3 separate regions of the Homo sapiens genome follow, and regions 2 and 3 are each linked to region 1. Evidence: promoter capture Hi-C in 16 types of primary human blood cells and fetal thymus (Javierre and others, 2016). All regions are on one chromosome and are shown on one strand. Each heading gives the region's core, a stretch centred on a gene start or on the middle of the fragment in contact. The rest is flanking DNA. Distances are from core to core; before and after follow the strand shown.

Region 1 (2,913 bases), core at 84-2,583:
CACTATTGAATTGTATACTTAAAAATGGTTAAGATGGGGCTGGGCGCAATGGCTCACACCTGTAATCCCAGCACTTTGGGAGGCTGAGGTGGGTGGACCACCTGAGGTCAGGAGTTTGAAACTAGCCTGGCCAACATGGCAAAACCCTGTCTCTATTAAAAATACAAAATTAGCCGGGCATGGTGGTGCATGTCTGTAATCCCAGCTACTTGGGAGGCTGAGGCAGGAGAATCGCTTGAACCTGGGAGGTGGAGGCTGCAGTGAGCCGAGATTGTGCCATTGTACAATCTCTTGTCGCCTGGGCAACAAGAGCGAAACTCCGTCTCAAAAAAAAAAAAAAAAAAAAAAGTTAAGATGGTAAATTTAATGTTACATATTGTACCACAATAAAATAAAATCCTGCCAATACAACAATATTGCAGGACTAATACAGCAACCACCTTCCTTCTCAGAGGTTCTAAGGGGAAGTAAGAGCTACAAAACATTTTTATTCTATTAATTTAAAAATATCCTGTCCCATAAATCATATTTATAACAAACAAAAAGCTCTGGAGAATATAATGTTCAGAAGAGTGTACCCAGAAATAATTAGAATGTTAGATACAGCCCAATGAGTCAAATATTTAGTGCAAACAAGCTGCAGGATAACAATTATGGGGAGAATAAAAACTAACTTCTTCATTTCAAATGACAACAAAAAAAGGGAAATAACACTAAACTGCAGGGCCAGCAGTTACATAGATGGACAGATAGTGGTTAAATTTTGGACTAGGATCAAAACCAAGACTGCAGAATCCCATCATTATTTCGCTTAAAATACAGGTGATGTTTTAATTTGCTCGGGAGAGTTTATCATAGTGATCAAAAGGGGAGAACACCATCAGAAATCTCATCTAGTCCTAATAATACAAGTTTGTTTTAGCAAAGGTCTTAAAGGAATACATGAAAATATGCTAAAATAATGTACAGATGAAAACTTAAGAAACAGAAATTCAGTGCTTGTGCTTTGAAAGTCCATATAGCATATTATGTATCATTTCTTACAAAACACAGAAAATACATATTTCTGCTTAGAATTTATAAAACTTTTAAATTTTGAGCGGGGGGAGGAAAACATTCCACAATTGTCAAGTTGGAAGGTATTCATAAAGAAGATATAAATAATTTCCTAAAGTTCAGTGTTGGTTGAGCTTAAAGTTGTTCCATGGTAGTAGGGCTTTTTAATATTTTCAAAAGGAATCTGAGAGTTGTCATACCGAAAAAAGAAAAAAAAAAAGAGGGGGAAAAAAAAAACCCTACCACCACATATGAACATAAAAAAGAAGAGAACCCCAACCAATTGCACCACGACCGGATGGAAGAGCCCAGCTGACACAACCAAGACGAGTCTCAGTGTCTAGGGAAGCTTGGGGTTCTGCTCCTTTTACTTCAGGCGAACCTGAACTGTGAGTATTTCTTGATTTCGGCTACATAAATGAACCTTTATTTCAGCTAAAATTTGATTATCTGAACATTCAAAGTGAAACGTGATTCATGGTGATAAGGCTACTCTAATGTCAGCAGTTATTCGCTTTTAGAACTACTGAGTAAATTGCTTGAATGACACCTCTGCCTTGATTTCAAATGAGACTGTCTTTTTAGTTACTTTAAGTACTTTAAGACATTCAAGGTATTTAAGCTCCTACTGTCAATATAGTCACATTGTTGATACTGCATTTGGATACTGCCATCAAGATTTTGCAGATCTACTTGCATGAATTAAAAGTTATTTTCATATGCAATACATTTTATTTCTAATGTATTATAAATTATAACTTATTGACTTTAAGTTATGCTGTCTCCCTATTTTAAATTACTGTCTTTTCTTTATTATATTATTACTATTTTATAGTATTACCAGACCATATAACATTTAAGTTTGGTGTTTCAGAAGTAAATAAGGTGAATATTAGATAAGAGAGAAAGCAAAATATGCTTTAGTTCAAATAATAATTTTTTAAAATGTGTTTCTAGGGACACAGTTAAATTTGTAACAAAACCTAACACACTATTAATAGTATTATTTCCAAAGTAATATGTTTTCAATTTTCATTTTTTATACAGCAGTTAATGCAATTTTGAAGCATGCCCTGAATAGATTCAGTCATTATCAAGTCAAACTAAAAACGGTGAAAGGTTGCGACTATTACCAAATAGGTATGTATTTCAACATAGCAATGTGATATTTTCACAAACATACCCAAACTGCATTTTAAAAGCTTCTGCTCATCTGGAGTCACAGTGGAATCTGTTGGGTCCTGCCCTCTGGGTCCAGTACTCCTACATGAGCCAGTTGAAAAAAAACTGCAGGAGTAGGTGGTGGTGCGGGGGTACAATGCACTAATACTAGGTTTTTGAACTTGTGAATAGGATTTGCCAAGTAACAACATTTAAAAAACACTATCTACTATTACAAAACTATTGTGACCACTTCAATATAGCACATGGGTCACAAGTAATGCCCACTGGGAAATTAATCCCCTATGTAAACACAGTGGTTTGTTTCTTGTCTTCACAAGCAATTCTTAACATATCAAACAGGTAGTTTAAAAAATATCAGTAAATAGCCTTATATAGTGAATGACATTGTAATGTACTAACCAACTTCAAAGGAGAAAAAAAAACAGTCACCAAGTTTAAAACAGAATGTAATTGTGATTTTTAATTAAAAAAAAAATTTTTTTTTGAGACAGACTCTCGCTCTGTTGCCCAGGCTAGAGTACAGTGGCATGAACACAGCTCACTGCAGCCTCTGTCTCCCGGGTTCAAGCAATTCTCCAGCCTCAGCCTCCGGAGTAGCTGGGACTACAGGTGCGTGCCACCACGCCCTGCTAATTTTTTTTTTTTTTTTTGGTATTTTTTAGTAGAGGCAGG
Region 2 (2,960 bases), core at 69-2,568, 1.0 Mb before region 1:
GCCGTCCTTTCATTTTTGAGATTGGGGAGCACAAGCTGGCCCAGTGTCACACCACGGCAGCTGATCCAGGACTCAGATCATCTGCTTCCCAGGCACTGCTCCTTTCCAGTGCCCACCCTGTGCCTGCTGATAACTACTGGCATGTAGACTGACTGCTAAAGTCAATTTGTGTTAGGAAGCCACTTCTGGCTGTCCCTCTCCGTCCCTTACTGGGCAAAAAAATTTCCTACTCGATCTACTTAGTAAGTGACATTGCCAAGATCTGAAGACAGATCCGGCTGCCTACCCCATTCCCAGCTACCCAAAGTGCCTTTAACTGGGCACTTAAGGTGCTATTTTAGCCCTAACTTCCCTTGGCTTACTCTGTCATCCTTACGGCATCCTATAGCCAAAAAAGAGCTGATGAGCTGTTCAGCGAGCCTTACCCTCAAACAGGCCACACAAGAGTCTCCCTCCCTCCCTGCCTGTGCTCATGATGCTCGCTCTGCATCTTGCCCCAGTATCTCTTGTAGAACTCTTTCCTGTAACTTTCCAAGCAGGGGTAACAAACTCAAATGCCCTCAGGAAGCAGACGGGTAGAAGAAAGCTTCTACTTCACTAAGCTGGGTTGGGTCCCGCATACCACCCCTGAACCGCCTAGACCCTTGATCAATCTCTCTCTCTGCATCTGTTTATGAGGCCCCGGCGACCACAAGACCAGATAGCCACCCCGAGTGCTGGGTGACCCGCCGCTTCCTCCTTCCGTCCCCGCCTCAGGCGCTTACCTTGGCCACCTCCCAGGCGTCCACGGGCCAGCGGCCCGGCCGGCAGTTTCCCCAGTGCACATCTCCATTTCTGTTGACATGATGTCTCAAAATCTCCCTTTTCCATTCAGCGCACACCTGACACTGAGGCTGAAACTACAGGGGGCGGCGGTGAGGAGGGGCCCAGGAGGGAGGGACGTCGCGGTGGGCCCCGCATCGCGGAGGGAACAGGACACTTGCGCTCTGGGTCTGGGACAGGAACGGGGATGAGGAGGGGTGGGGTGGGGGCGGTGGTCAAGGCCCCGAGCCAGGTGCTCACCTGGCGGGCGCGAGGGCTGCACCGTGAGCCGCCGCGGCAGACGGCGCGGGGCCCCAGGCCGGGGGCTGCGGCGAGTAGGCCGCGGTGGAAGGAGAGCACCTCGCGGCCGACGAAACCCTGCAGGCAGCTGCGCAGCAGTAACAGGCAGTGGCCCGCCTTCACCCAGTTCTTGTACTCGGCGCAGTTGAGGCGCGCCGCTAGCTCCGACAGCACCATGTCTCCCACTTGGAACCAGGAGGTTGCGGGGCGTGGCGGACGGCAGTGCGCAGGCGCGGAGCCTGGGAAGTACCCGAGGCAGCGGCGCCTGCGCCGGCGGCAGCGACGCCTGCGCCTGCGCGGCGCGGTGCCACCGATCCCGGGGCGGGGCATCTTGACTTCCGGGGCACGTCGGCTCCACCCCACTTGGGTGACGTCTGACGTCTGACGTCTAACAACTTTGGTGCTTGGGGAAGCAGTTAACTATTTGAAACCCTTAGGCCCTCTTCGTCCCCCAAACAGAGACCCTGTCAGCATCCGATTCGACTCCCTCTCCTAATGTAGGGCACTTCTGTTTTAACTTTTTTTTATTGTCCAGATGTACAAGGTGCTCAGGGCACATTGCTTGAATCGTGTATGTTCTTTGCATTATACAATTCTAGAGTTACTGGTTCCTAAGCCCACAGACCAGCTGTAGCAAATTGAGGTATTAGTGAAACGTGACCGCTGGCTGCCTGCGGTGTGCCAAGCTAACCCAAAACTCAAAATCCCCCGCCACTGGACCACCCAGAAGGGGGCGTTTGCCTGTTTAGGGCAACACATCACTTGGATTCTAGAAGGCTGCACACCTGAGCCAGATAAGGGCATCCTGAAGCACCTAGCAAAGGTTAGACGATAATTATCTAGTATTCTTGATTATATGATAATTAGTGCTCCTTGCACATGGAAGTCTGATTTAAGTTCCAAAGAAGTGCCACAAAGGTCAGAAGGCACTGGGATTGTCAACTCCAAGTGACAAGTCAGGTCAGTTTTAGTTGTTTTTAATGAGCTTTCTGAGCTTGGAAAACATGTCAAAATTGTGTGTAGTTAAAAGCCTCTGAGGAAAGAGTCTAAACATTAAACCTTCCCGACTGTGGTTCACAGCAAAAATGTCCAGTGTTTAGGAGCACTAGCTCAGACTCAAACTGCCCCTTCTTAGCAGTTTGATCTTAAGCAACCTTAATTTGATCTCAGGCAAATTACATTTCTCTGGGCCTCCATTTACTCATTTTTAAGAAGAGGATATCAATAACCTACCACATTGGGTTGTTGTGAGGATTAAATACACATTGAAATATTAAGAAAATGCCTAGCACACAGTAAGCTCTCAGTAAATACTTGCTATTATTTTATATTGACCTAAATATGCCCTTTCATCAATCAGTTATATTCTTGGGCAAGGTATTTTAACAAATCACTGGCCACTTGGAAGTGGAGGCAACTTGCAGAAAATTGTGAGCATACCATGGAGTTCCTGGAGTTGTGCAGCACAGTGCTGGCTGGCCTCTGCTAACTTTGTCTTAATAACCTCAATGCTAAATCCATCCTAAGTAAATTTAAATCACATCCTTAGACACACTGTCCATTCTCAAACCGAATGAAAAAAAAATTCCACAAGAAACAATGAAATACACATTAACATTTTCCCTCTATGTCCCTTGAATGTAAGTTCTCTTAAAATTTTCTGTATACTGATTTTATATCAAGAACACTTGGATGATAAATAAACATTAAGGTAAAATGTAATAGGCACTTCTTTTGGGGGGAAAAACTATGAAAGGAACAACTTTTTATATTGAAATTGCATCAGAATCCAGGGTAGCAAAGTTATAACTTCTTGAAGTTATCAAATTAACCACAGTCCAAAGAATGGCTGTTAGTAT
Region 3 (2,935 bases), core at 19-2,518, 2.0 Mb after region 1:
ACACCGCCCCCAGCGCCCAGCGTGCTCCAGAAACATGAGCACAAACGCCTCAGCCTCCTTCCCCGGCGGCACCGGCACCGGCACCAGTACCCGCACCAGTACCGGCACCGGCACCAGTACCCGCACCAGTACCGGCACCGGCACCAGTACCCGCACCAGTACCGGCACCGGCACCGAGCGCAAGGCGGAGGGCCCGCCCGAAGCCGGGGGCACAACTGCCCAGGTCCCGAACCCGGACTCCAGCTTGGACGACACCTCCTACAGCCTGTCCGAATGGAGCGTCCGTTCTGAGTGGCGGTCCGTCTCGGATCCGCTAGCCAGTTCCCAGTGGAGCACGTCCTCAACTGCCGAGGCCGCCTCCTGGAGCTCCAGCATACACTCCCCAATCAGCACTACCGGTCTTAGCGAGAGTACTGACTCCGACTCCAAGAGTGGCCTCCGGGGTTTCAGCGCTTACAACCCGAGCAGTCGGATCCCCAAGTCTACCACCAGCTCGAACTCCTCCGATGGGGCCGTCACAGCCTCCAATCAGGACACCGGCATTCCCTGGGTATTAGTAACAGGACCTACCCCGCCCGTAAACTCCCCCGTAGAGTCATTGCAAGGGTCTGCCTTCTCCTCAGGGTTCAGCACCCCACGGGGTTTGGTAAAAGGACCGACCCTGCCCCCGGATTCCAACCTGACCTCAGTGTCCGACTACACTTGGATATTTGTACGGGGACCTCCTATACCCAATGACCTTTCGCAAGTGTCAATACAAGCACCTCCTACACCCAGTAACACCCCCGAGTGTCAGTACAAGGGTCTGCCGCATCCTCAGTGTCCAGCTTCCCCTGGGGTTTGGTACCAGGACCACCTCTACCCAATAACATTTCCCCAGTGTCGCCACAAGCACCTCCTGCACCCCATAACATCCCCCCAGTGTCAAGGCAGGCGTCTACCCCCACCTCAGTGCCTGACACTCCGCGGGGTTCAATACAAGAACCTCCTGCACCCAGTAATCCTTTCCAGCTGCCGACACAAGGACATTCTAAACCTAATAACTCTCGCCGAGTGTCAGTACAAGGGTCCGCCCCGCTCTCAGTGCCCAGCTCCCCCCGGGTATCAGCTGAAACATCAGCTCCGCCCCTGGGCGCTCCCGGAGTATCAGCAAAAGGGTTCGCCCCGCCCACAGTGCCCGGCTCCCCCCGGGTATCAAAAGAAGGATCGGCTCCGCCCCCGGGCTCCCCGGGGGAGTTGATAGAAGGGTCCTTCCCACCCTTTGCCGTCCCCACTCCTGTGCCTACGACCCAGGAGCGTGTCAGCCAAAGCATGGAGAATCAAGAGAAGGCGAGTATCGCGGGCCACATGTTCGACGTAGTCGTGATCGGAGGTGGCATTTCAGGTCAGTGTGGACCGTAGCGGTGGCCTGGGGGACCCTGGCCAGTGAGGGGTAGGGGAACCTACAGTAGCTCTTGTGGTGTTTGGGGGTCTCTCATGCATGCGAGAGTGTAGTGTAGCCATGGCTTGGCCCCATATCCTGCGAGGTAGGAGTGGGGGTTGTGCCAGTTTTGCTGGTGGTGTGACTGGGGGAGGCAGACACAATAATTTTACTACTACTACTATTAAATACTAATATTTAATTAGCTCTTGCTGTGCAGTTGTATTTAGCACTTTACGTGGATTTTCTCAGTCCTCAACAGTCCTGTGAGGTGGGAACTAAATTCATCCCCGTTTTGCAAAACCAAGAAACTGAGGTCTGGGGAGTTTCAATAACTCTCTTGAGGTCGAATCACCTAGCTTGTAAGTGGCTGAACGATTTTCTCCCATTTAAGACCTGCAGTACTAATTCCTGAGGTGGCTGCTTTGCCTCACTGATTTCATATCCTTTGCCCTAAACAGAACATCAGGATACAGATTTCTGTAGTATTGAGGGAGCAGTAGTGTTATTCCAGTCCTGCTCTTCTCTATTTTCCGTAGAAAATTTAGTAGGTGAAGAGGAAGGAGGTAGACTCCTTTAAGAAAAGGTTAAAAAAAAAAAGAGGAGAAGAGGGGGTGAGCTCTTAAACTATTCCTGTGTGTGTGTGTGTGTGTGTGTGTGTGTGTGTGTGTATGAACTGTGTTTATATATATATATGAACTGTGTTTATATATATATATGAACTGTGTTTATATATATATATGAACTGTGTTTATATATATATATGAACTGTGTTTATATATATATATGAACTGTGTTTATATATATATATATGAACTGTGTTTATATATATATATATATGAACTGTGTGTGTGTATATATATATATGAACTTGCAGGAAGGTGTAGGACATTTATTGTCCAAAGAGAATCCCTTTATGAAGCAGGGGCTGAGTGCCCTGTTGTATCCTCCTTCCTCCTTTCACTAAGAGCTCCCACCACCTGAATCTTGTCTTCTGATGAGCCAGTTGGTGGGCCAGGGTGCCCCTGGTCCTGGCTTGGATTTGTGGCTAACCAAGTGAGTGGTGCATGAGGCTTTCCAATATCTTCCTGGAAGCCTCATCATGATTGATATATTGTCGCCTATGTTGCCATCATTGGTAAAATGTTTGAAAATTAGGAATTTTGTTGCCTTTCATCCCTGGCTAGAATACCACACTGACCTATCCTCCCCCTACTAGGTGTTAATAATTTCTGAGTTATCCCTGCAGGATCTGATTCAGAAAGAGAAAGCTGATGGGAGGGAGTAAGTAGAGTGGCCCCACAGTAGCCATTTTTATATATAAATCTTTCGAGGAGACTCTGAACATGCTACAAATTAATGTTGGGTAGAGATAGCTTTATCTGAACCCAACATTGTTTATCCTGAACAGGCCAAGAGAAGAGATTGGCATGAACTGTTGCTTTGCCAGTTCCAGCCAGTACCAGCAAAAACATACATGTATGTTGGAGCATCAGAGGAAAGCAGCTCCTGGTG

The links. Contacts are between HindIII fragments. The CHiCAGO score rates a contact against its expected background, and 5 or more counts as called.
Region 2: a contact is called between the fragment with the promoter of CXorf38 here and the fragment with the promoter of GPR34 in region 1, in 1 of 17 cell types (monocytes). The highest score is 6.2, in monocytes.
Region 3: the fragment with the promoter of MAOA here is called in contact with the fragment with the promoter of GPR34 in region 1 in 6 of 17 cell types (naive CD8 T cells, total CD4 T cells, monocytes and 3 more); the score reaches 9.8 in naive CD8 T cells.

What each region holds. Positions count from the first base shown.
Region 1 is chrX:41,687,640-41,690,552 of GRCh38, forward strand. It overlaps GPR34 (G protein-coupled receptor 34), which reads left to right and starts at 1,334. Exons shown (of 3, transcript NM_001097579.2): 1 at 1,334-1,445; 2 at 2,104-2,196. All of the region lies in intron 5 of CASK (calcium/calmodulin dependent serine protein kinase), which reads right to left. The HindIII fragment of the contact is 2,059 bases long and covers 1-1,403 here.
Region 2 is chrX:40,646,243-40,649,202 of GRCh38, forward strand. It overlaps CXorf38 (chromosome X open reading frame 38), which reads right to left and starts at 1,319. Exons shown (of 7, transcript NM_144970.3): 1 at 1,063-1,319; 2 at 765-899. The coding sequence starts at 1,278. It overlaps MED14 (mediator complex subunit 14), which reads right to left. Exons shown (of 31, transcript NM_004229.4): 31 at 2,063-2,960. RefSeq lists an enhancer at 500-699 and silencers at 950-1,099, 1,220-1,519, 1,355-1,535. The HindIII fragment of the contact is 2,915 bases long and covers 585-2,960 here.
Region 3 is chrX:43,655,031-43,657,965 of GRCh38, forward strand. MAOA (monoamine oxidase A) reads left to right here and starts at 1,269. Exons shown (of 15, transcript NM_000240.4): 1 at 1,269-1,384. The coding sequence starts at 1,312. RefSeq lists a silencer at 1-171 and an enhancer at 103-162. The HindIII fragment of the contact is 10,667 bases long and covers 1-2,935 here.